Regions from separate parts of the Homo sapiens genome. Here region 2 is linked to region 1. Evidence: promoter capture Hi-C in human tissues and cell types (Jung and others, 2019). All regions are on one chromosome and are shown on one strand. Each heading gives the region's core, a stretch centred on a gene start or on the middle of the fragment in contact. The rest is flanking DNA. Distances are from core to core; before and after follow the strand shown. Region 1 holds the start of STOML3 (stomatin like 3). Region 2 overlaps LHFPL6 (LHFPL tetraspan subfamily member 6).

Region 1 (5,060 bases), core at 684-3,183:
TAACCCATAACCTGGAAAATTTTTTACTTTTGTTTTTTTCTTTTTTGAGTTGGGGTCTCGCTGTGTCACCCAGGCTGGAGTGCAGTGGAGCCATCTTGACTCACTGTAACCTCTGCTTCCCAAGCTCAATCAATCTTCCCACTTCAACCTCCAGTGTAGCTAGGACTATAGGTGCATGCCACCATGCCTGGTTAATTTTTGTATTTTTAGTAGAGATGGGGTTTTACCATGTTGCCCAGGCTGGAATCTGAGAAAAGTTTTAAGATGAAGTTGCAAAGAAGGAAATAACTAGGTGGTTGGCAGAAGAAAAACCAGAAAAGACAAGAAGGCCAGGGAGAGATTAGAGATTTTTTCTACTGTTTTCACAAAATAATACAATATAATATAATAAATGCCATACAATAAATATAATGGTATACAAAAGAAAAACAAGATATATTTGGGATATTGATATGAGAGAAATGAACATCAGAAAATTAGAAAATTGGTGTTCTTAGTATTGGAATAACCACAAAATTGTCTGTGGTTCTATGTGGTCTGATGAAAGAAGGAATCCTAGTACAGGATCCTAAGGATCTGGATTTGAGAAAGAGCTTTGCCATTTGAGAGCTGTTTTCATTTGTGATTTATATATTCATTCATTCAGCAAGTATTGTTGAACATCAATCATGTGCCCACGTTGTTCTAATTGTTGCAGATGCAATGGAAATGTTAGACCAAGTCACTCTCCTCATGGAAATGTATAGTGCAAGGCAGGGGTCAGCAAACTTTTTTTGTGAAGGGACAAACAGTAAATATTTTAGGCCTTACAGCTTGTATGGTCTGTGTCACAACTACTCAAATCCACGGGTGCAGTGCAAAAGTGAGCACAGACAATACAAAAATGAAAGAGCTGGGCATGGTGGCTCATATCTACAATCCCAGCAGTTTGGGAGACCAAGGCTGAAGGATCATTTGAGCCCAGAGTTTGAGACCAGCCTGGGCAATATAGTGAGGCCCCATCTCTAAAAAAAAAAAAAATTAAAAATTAGCCAGGTATGGTGGTGTGCACCTGGAGTCCCAGCTGTTGAAGAGGCTGAGGTAGGAAGATTGCTTGAGCCTGGCAGGTCGAGATTGCAGTGAGCTGTGATTGTGCCACTGCACTCCAGCCTGGGCAACAGAGTGAAATCCTATCTCAAAAAAAAAAAAAAAAAAAAGAAAGCAACAAAAGGACATACTGTGTTCCAATAACACTTTATGTTTTAAAAACAAGTGGTAAATTAAATTTAGCTGGCAAGCTAAAGTTTGTCAATTCTTGGTCTAGAAGAAGAAACAGACACAAGCCAAAAAATTATGCATATGATAACACGTGCAAAGATCCGGTGGCGAGAAGACATATCAAGCTTTGGAGGCACTGATAGGAGACCAATGGAGCTGCTTCACGGAGAGACACATGAGTGAGGCTGGAAAGGGAGGAAGGGGCAGGCCAGCAGGGTCTTGTAGGACACTTAGGAGTTTGGTCTTTACAATATTGACAGTTGGCAATTTTTTGATTATTTTAAGCAGGATGAAGACATGATCAGATTTGAGTTTCAAAAGCTCACTCACTGCAGTGTTAGAATGAGTTGGGTTAAATTTTCTCATCTGAAACATAAGGATGGATACACTTGCCCTGTGTATTGAACAGGTCATTGTGTAATCAGTGATCACACAAGATTTATACAAGGTGCATAGAAGTGTTTTATGAAATATAAATGCTATAGAAAATTACACAGCAATATTTTACAGGAAGCAATACCACCAGATGGTCATATTCTTTCAAGTTTTTTCTGTGAACAAAGGCAGTCTGAACTCATAAAAGAAATCTTTTTGTTTATGTTATCAGGCTTCCCTCACCAGGGTAACTACCCCTTAGGGAGTTCACTAAAGAGAAGGAATGTCTTTCACTCTCTCATACTTTCTCCTCTCCCCTCTCCCAAGCACATCTGAGTTGCTGCCTGTTCTTCACACTTAGCTCCAAACCCATGAAAAATTGCCAAGTATAAAAGCTTCTCAAGAATGAGATGGATTCTAGGGTGTCTTCACCTGAGAAGCAAGATAAAGAGAATTTCGTGGGTAAGTTCCTTTTTCCTGTCTTAGGCTTGTTTTTTACATATATGGCAAAGCAGGAGTTGTAGCATTATAGACAGGTATAGAGTAAGTATGAGATATATTTGCAGAAATCGGCCTCAATTTCATTTATAGCCCAGGATTTTGAATTCATTGCTTATGCTGATTTCATTTGCTTCTTGAACGGCAGTCTATAACTTGCTTTATTTTTCCTTCAATTTTAGATAAAGTTGGTGTTTATCTTTGAATTTCTTCTTTCTGTATGAAATCCTTCTCAGGATTTTGAATTCATTGCTTATGCTGATTTCATTTGCTTCTTGAACAGCAGTCTATAACTTGCTTTATTTTTCATTCAATTTTAGATAGAATTGGTGTTTATCTTTGTATTTCTTCTTTTTGTATTAAATAACAAAGATATGTTGAAGAGGCTGACTTTTCTCCAACTTCAAACATTTTCTGATGATGCTGAGATTAAAAAGAAAAGTTGGTTTGAGCTGTATCCTGTTTGATAAATGGAGAGAAGTTGAGAAAAAAAACTTAGCTTATAAGTACCAACTACTATCATTAATACTAATGACTATTATGTGTTACAAAGCATTTTGCTTGCATTATCTCTTTCAATTTTACAATAATTCTGAGGTAGATCCTCTTAGAATCTCATTTTACAAATGAGAAAACTGAGCATTGGAAAGTTTAAAAAGTTGTTCAGAAAGTGATTATGATGATGGTGTGCGTGTGTGTGTGTGTGATGATGGTGTGAGTGTGCGTGTGTGTATGACCTAACCTGTGCTCTGTACCTTATGTTGCCAAAAAAGCCATAGTACATGTTAGAAATAGAGAACACGTTTGGCATTACTAATACATAAAAGAAAAAACTAGGCTGCATGCACTGGTGCATGCCCTGTAATCGCAGCACTTTGGAAGGCCAAGGCAGGCAGATCACTTGAGCTCAGGAGTTCGAGACCAGCCTGGGCAAAATGGCAAAAACTCATCTCTACAAAAAATACAAAATTTAGCCAGGTGTGGTGGCACATGCCTGTGGCTAAGTGGGAGGTTGAGGTGGGAGGATTGCTTGAGCCCAGGAGGTTTAGGCTTCAGTGAGCTGAGATTGCACCACTGTACTCCAGCCTGGGTGACAGAGTGAGACCCTGCCTAACAAAGAAAAAAAAATGGAATAAAGAAAGAAAAAAGAAAAAGTATACATTTAGAGACATTTACCTGAATTGGAAAAGAAACTTTTCTTTTGAAGTAGGCATGAAAAGCTTGAAGGCAGTAAATATCATCTGGAAATGCAAGCGGGAGATCTCAAGAGTCCCCTTATTTATCCTTCATGAGACATTTAGTTTCCATTTTAACAGGTGAAGACATCAACTGGGTAGATGGCATGACTGAAGCTGTATCATCAGTGAGATTCTTGAAAGTACTCATGAGTTTTCTTGGTTTCGATATTTGAATATGAAAAACTGGCACTATCACAGAATGAACAAAATGGGGCTGATATATTTGCAATGTCTGATTTCCTGTGCTTTTGTAGTTTTTTAGGAGAGATACAGTGTGGACCATTCTCTGAGATCTGTGGACTAAGTTTGCCCTTGCAACTCAGATATATATAAAAAATATATATAATACAATATAACATATATAACATATATCTTATATAATATAGTATATAATGTATGATATATATTATGTAATATAGTATATATAATATATTGTGTAATATAGTATATATAATATATTGTATAATATAGTATATATATTATGTATTCTATAGTATAGTATATAATATGTAATAATATATATTATATAATACAGCATATATAATATATATTATGTATTATAGTATATATAATTATATATACTATATACTATAATATATAACTTGTAATATGTACTTATGAATACTTGATATACCTGACAGCACATAAGTGGCAAATATGTTTTTCCAGTTGTCACTTATTTTTTCACCTTTTTAATGATGTGTTTGATATCAAATATATAAAATTTCAATATATAATATATATAAAATATATGATATAAAATATAATATATTATATATAAAATATATGATATATAATATATTATATATAAAATATATGATATAAAATATATTATATATAAAATATATGATATAAAATATATTATATATAAAATATATGATATAAAATATATTATATATAAAATATATGATATAAAATATATTATATATAAAATATATGATATAAAATATAATATATTTTATATAAAATATATGATATAAAATATCATATATTTTATATAAAATATATGATATAAAATATAATATATTATATAAAATATATGATATAAAATATAATATATTATATATAAAATATAATATATTATATATAAAATATATGATATAAAATATAATATATTTTATATATAATATATGATATAAAATATAATATATTATATATAAAATATATGATATAAAATATCATATATTTTATATGAAATATAATATATTTTATATAAAATATAATATATTATATATAAAATATATGATATAAAATATATGATATAAAATATAATATATAAAATATATGATATAAAATATAACATATTATATATAAAATATATGATATAAAATATAATATATTATATATAAAATATATGATATAAAATATAATATATTATATATAAAATATATGATATAAAATATAATATATTATATATAACATATAATATATTATATAAAATATAATATATTATATATAACATAATATATTATATAAAATATAATATATTATATATAACATAATATATTATATAAAATATAATATATTATATATAACATATAATATATTATATAAAATATAATATATTATATAAAATATAATATATTATATATAAAATATAATATATAATATATACACAATAGTATATATTATATAATATACATACTATATATTTTATATATATTTAGTTATATGAATTAATATATATAATAT
Region 2 (5,060 bases), core at 794-3,293, 560 kb before region 1:
TGCTCCTATTATTTATTTATTATTTATTTAGGGACAGGATCTTGCCCTGTCACTCAGGCTGGACTGCAGTGGTGTGATCATGGCTCACTGCAGCTTCAATCTTCTGGGCTCAAGAGATCCTCCAGCCTCAGCCTCTTGAGTAGCTGGGACTACAGGGATGTGCCATCATGGCTGGCTGATTTTTATTTTTTTGTAGAGATGGAGTGTCACTATGTTGCCAGGTCTAGTCCCAAACTCCTGGGTTCAAACAATCTTCCCACCTCAGCTTCCCAAATTGCTGGGTTTATAGCATGAGCCACCATGTCCAGTCACTGCTTTCTCTTTAAATATAAATTCCAATTTGAAGTCATTTCTTTGGTCCCGTTATCTGATTATAAGCTGTTAGAAGCCACTAGGCCACTTCTTGAATGTCTTACTGCTTAGAAATTTCTTCTGCCAGATACCCTAGGTCATCACTCTGAAGTGCAAACTTCCACACATCCCTAGGGCATAAACACAGTACAGCCAAGTTCTTCGCCAGGGTGTAACAGGGGTGACCATTACTCTAGTTCCCAATAACTTCCTTATTTCCATCTGAGATCTCAGTCTGGACTTCACTTTCCATATTTCTATCAGCGTTTTGGTCACAACCATTTAACCAGTCTCTAAGAAGTTCCAAACTTTCCCTCATCTTCCTGTCTTCTTCTTTGACCTCCAAACTCCTCCAACCTCTGGCCATTACCAAGTTCCAAAGCTGCTTTCACATTTTCAGCACCCCACTCCTTAGTGCCAATTTTCTGTGTTAGTCTGTTCTTGTATGGCTATAAAGAAATACCTGCAGCTGGATCATTAATAAAGACGTTTTATTGACTCACGGTTCTGCTGGCTGTACAGGAAACATGGCGCTGACATCTGCTCAGCTTCTGGTGTGGGCTTCAGGAAGCTCCTAATCTTGGTGGAAGGCAAAGGGGGAGCAGGTGTGTCACATGGCAAGAGTGGGAGTGAGAGAGTGAAGGGGGAGGTCCCAGACTCTTTTAAACAACCAGATCTCATGTGAACTAATTGAGTGAGAACTCACTTACCACCAAGGGGATGGTACTAAGCCATTCATGAGAGACCTGCCCCCATGATCCAGTACTTCCCACTAGGTCCCACCTGCAACATCTTCAACATGAGATTTGGAGGGGACAGATATCCAAACCATATCATGTATGGATGGAATGTCCTTATTAATTGAAATTTCTTGTTGAAGGCCATGAAAATATTTATCAGTTTTGTTAAAAATCTTTCAAAATTATGTTGGCTTCTTTTGCTATCTTTATAAACGTGTTATATGCTATGTATAATTTAATACTTAAATTTTTGTTACTAAATATCTTGCCTTCACTTATGTTTATTATTGTGAACACCAGTTTCAATAAACTGATGCTTAATAAGCTCACTAAAGTTTAGTGCTAAGTTAGCCTCAGCCATTCATTTTACAGATGAGGAAATAGTGACCCAGAGAAATTGAGAGACTTTGCTCAGAGTCACCGTGTTTGTTGTTAGAGGCACAGTGTGTGTGTGATTACAGAACTTTCATCTGAATGCTATAATATGTGCCTAAAAGAAAGCGCTATCGCATGAGTTCTGGTAGCACCTTATTTTCTTTCTTAATTTCACAGCAGAATGCAAAAAAAAAAAAAAAAGGGCGGGGAGAGCTCTGTTTTTCAAAGTTTTACTGTATTCAGAAGCCACCTTTCACTTATTTGATTCTGCCCAATATGTCAGACAGACAAGGATGAGAATACAAAGGGATTGGAGCACCTCTGGGTCCTGATTCTAATTGAATTTAACATAGTCATATTTGTCAGTTTCCGAGTAGGAGTGAAGTAGCTGATGCTGTATTGTAATATTGTTAGAATTTTGAAGGAGCCAAAAGCTTACTTGGCCTTGTTCGTAATCTTTTATTTTTGATAATGGAGCAAGAGTATTTATTTGCACCACATCTGGACTTGACTTCTGGCTAGAAAAGAAAATTTTTTCTGAAGAGTTCCTCCCACTTCTAAGACCCCAGATCCACAACACATTGCATTTAGCCTATCAAGCATTGTACTGTTGTATGAGGGATGCAAAGGTTCATATGCCATGCTGTCAAAAATTTACAACCTTTAGTACTTGACTAAGTAGAGGTTAAACTTTAATGAAAACTTTACTATAACAATGGAGGCATATTCAAGGTGTTCAGGGAAAAGGACAGATCTACCCAAGGGCAGTAGATGGGGATGTGAATGGCTGGGGGGACACACGCCTATTGGAGAAGACAGTCAGAAAGTTGTCAGTAGTTGAATCAGCTTGTTGAAAGTTCAGTGGGTGGGGAGGAGGGGGAAGACAACAACATTTGAAAACACGGAGATGTGAAAAAGTCTGGTCTGTTTGGGCATTGATTCTGGTGTGATGTGACTGTAGAAGTATGCAGGGATGCAGGCGAAACAACTAGAAGGAAAAATTGGGATCAGATAATGAAACATCTTGAATTCCATGCTCAACTGTTCAGAACATTCTGTAGGAAACTGGGGGTTGTTAAAGTGTCTGACTTGCATTTATGGGATGATATGTCCTGACATGCATTTTAATAAAACAATGATTTTGATTTAGTAAGAAAATTATTCCTCTTTAGCGATTAAAGAGTATATTAAAGAGGCAAAAGAATGAGGAAAGGAGACCTTTTAGAAGACAAATGATGAAGACTTTTACTTGTGGTATGGCAGAAAAAATGGAGACTGGTAGATAACTTTGAGATCTACATCTGTATAGAAGCTGCCAGATTAAGTGATTGATTATAGGAAGTACAGGAGAGGGAGAAGTCAAAGTAGATTGCTTAATCCAGAGTCATAGGACAAGTAATGGTGTTATTGGTAGCTGAGAAAACACAAGGAGAGTTAAAAAGAAAGTTATAGAATGAAATCCAAGGAGCAACTTTGAAAGGTAGATGAGCCTTTCATAAGGTATAACAAGCCACCTCAAAATTTCATAGCTTAAAACGACAACCATATATTAATTAAGCTTGTGAGCTGATGGGTTGGTGGGGTGGTTCATCAGGTCTGGGCTGGCTTAGGTTAGTCTGACCTTTTTTTCACTGATTGTCTGCCATCGGCAGGGAAATTGGCAGGTGGCTGGCTGGTTTAGGATGGCCTCAGCTGGAATGATGTTCCACTATCTGTTTCTGTTCATCCAGCAGGCTAGGTAAAGTTTGTTTTCATGACAGTGGGTCAGGATTCCAACGTGCACCTGGCCTTTTTTATTTATTTTATTATTTTTTGAGACAAGGTCTTGCTCTGTCACCCAGGCTGTAGCGCAGTGGCGCAATCATAGTTCACTGCAGCCTCACACTGCTGGGCTCAAGTGCCACCTCAGCTTCCTGAGTAGCTGGGACTACAGGCACAGACCACCATGCTGGCTAATTAAAAAAAATATTTTTTTTTGTAGAGATGAAGTCTCACTATGTTGCTCAGGCTGGTCTTGAACTCCTGAGCTCAAGGGATCCTCATATCTTCGCCTCCCCAAGTATTGTGATAAGAGGTGTGAGCCTGCATGCCTGGCCGTGCCTGAAGTTTTGAAATCCAGTCTCAAGACTGACATAGTGTCACTTCCACTGCATTTTCTCTGGCCAAAGGAAGTTTCAAAGCCTGTCCAAATTCATGGGGTGAAGCTGCAAATTTACATTCCAGGGAGTTGGGTATAGGAAAGGTTGAAGAATGGGGTTTTTGCTGTAATTAGTCTACCACAGTGATTCATAATTATTAGATGATTATCAAAATAATTTCTAAATTGTATTCCATTAATTGTATTTCTGTGCTTTCCCATGAAGACTAAAATGAATGATTTTCTAATATTAGCTTAAATGTATTGACATATTTCAATTTTCTCATTTTGTGGGATATTATTCTGGTTGCTCTTTGCAGGGTTCCTGATGCTTTACATTTTTAAGTTTAACTTCATTTAAAAGCATTAATAAAGTTTTTTTCTCTTTTATTCAGAATTACCTCCAGAATAAGTGTACAACAAATCCTGCAAGTAAGGTATCCCAAAGCATCATCCTCATTCTTGGTCACCACCTCCAGAATAAGTATACAACAAATCCTGCAAGTAAGGTATCCCAAAGCATCATCCTCATTCTTGGTCACCACCTCCAAAAAGGCACCCATTAAATTAAAAAAACTGGCTAAATATGTAACTGTGCCTTCATTGTCTTTGGGTGGAGACCTTCACTTCAGAAGCTTCATGGGCTGTTTTTTCACTGTTGCTGGTGCATTGCAAGATGTTGCCCTTGGCAAGGTGTGCTTGGTCCCTACAGTTCTTCTCTATCATTCTTATTAATGATGTTTTGCTAGTCCCATGCAGAGCCTTTGAATATCATTCCAAGAAAGGACCACCCACAGTGAAAATATTACGCCTATCCAGTGGTCTTGAATGTGTCCCTTATGAAGTGGAATCTTTATGTAAAATAGACACTTGGGAAGCAATTATTATTAATTACGGACCCTTTCATCACAGCCTTTGATCCCTTGCATGCACCAGTACTCACTCCTGCTGTTCATGACAGTGACAGTGTGTCACTGTCACTGTCCAACAATGGTTTATGTGCCATTAAGAACAAAGAGACTTTTTGAAAAATAGTCAGTTTACCAATTGCTGTCACAATCATAGTCTTTGAATATGGTTGTGTGTGTTCTTCTCAGTTAATAGATTCTCCTTATATTAATGCTGACCCCTGCCTCTGTTACAGGCTTCAAGGGTATGTGTTTAAACTGACCTGTTGATACTGGGGTTAGATTATCCATGTATGCAATTTATTTTGAACCTTGTGAATGAGATAATCACATACAATTTCTGATCCATGAAGGGAATGCTATCTGGCACAGAGGGTGCTGATTTGTTAGATTTTATGTTCTCATGATTATTTTCTGATGTTTGAAATAATTACCATTGTTTAATAAAAAAGAATAGGCCAGCAGTATATAGCTAATTCACTCATAATTAAGGAAGTTAGCCAAGATATTCTGAGTCATTATTCAGTCGAAACTTTTAGATACAGAGGG

What was found. Contacts are between HindIII fragments. The study calls those that stand out against the background at their distance.
Region 2: a contact is called between a fragment that was not itself captured here and the fragment with the promoter of STOML3 in region 1, in 1 of the 25 tissues and cell types used here (dorsolateral prefrontal cortex).

What each region holds. Positions count from the first base shown.
Region 1 is chr13:38,987,704-38,992,763 of GRCh38, reverse strand. STOML3 (stomatin like 3) reads left to right here and starts at 1,933. Exons shown (of 7, transcript NM_145286.3): 1 at 1,933-2,094. The coding sequence starts at 2,043. The HindIII fragment of the contact is 2,975 bases long and covers 1-2,689 here.
Region 2 is chr13:39,551,932-39,556,991 of GRCh38, reverse strand. All of the region lies in intron 2 of LHFPL6 (LHFPL tetraspan subfamily member 6), which reads left to right. Among named protein-coding and RNA genes, the nearest start is that of LHFPL6, 49 kb to the left of the region's middle. The HindIII fragment of the contact is 3,177 bases long and covers 455-3,631 here.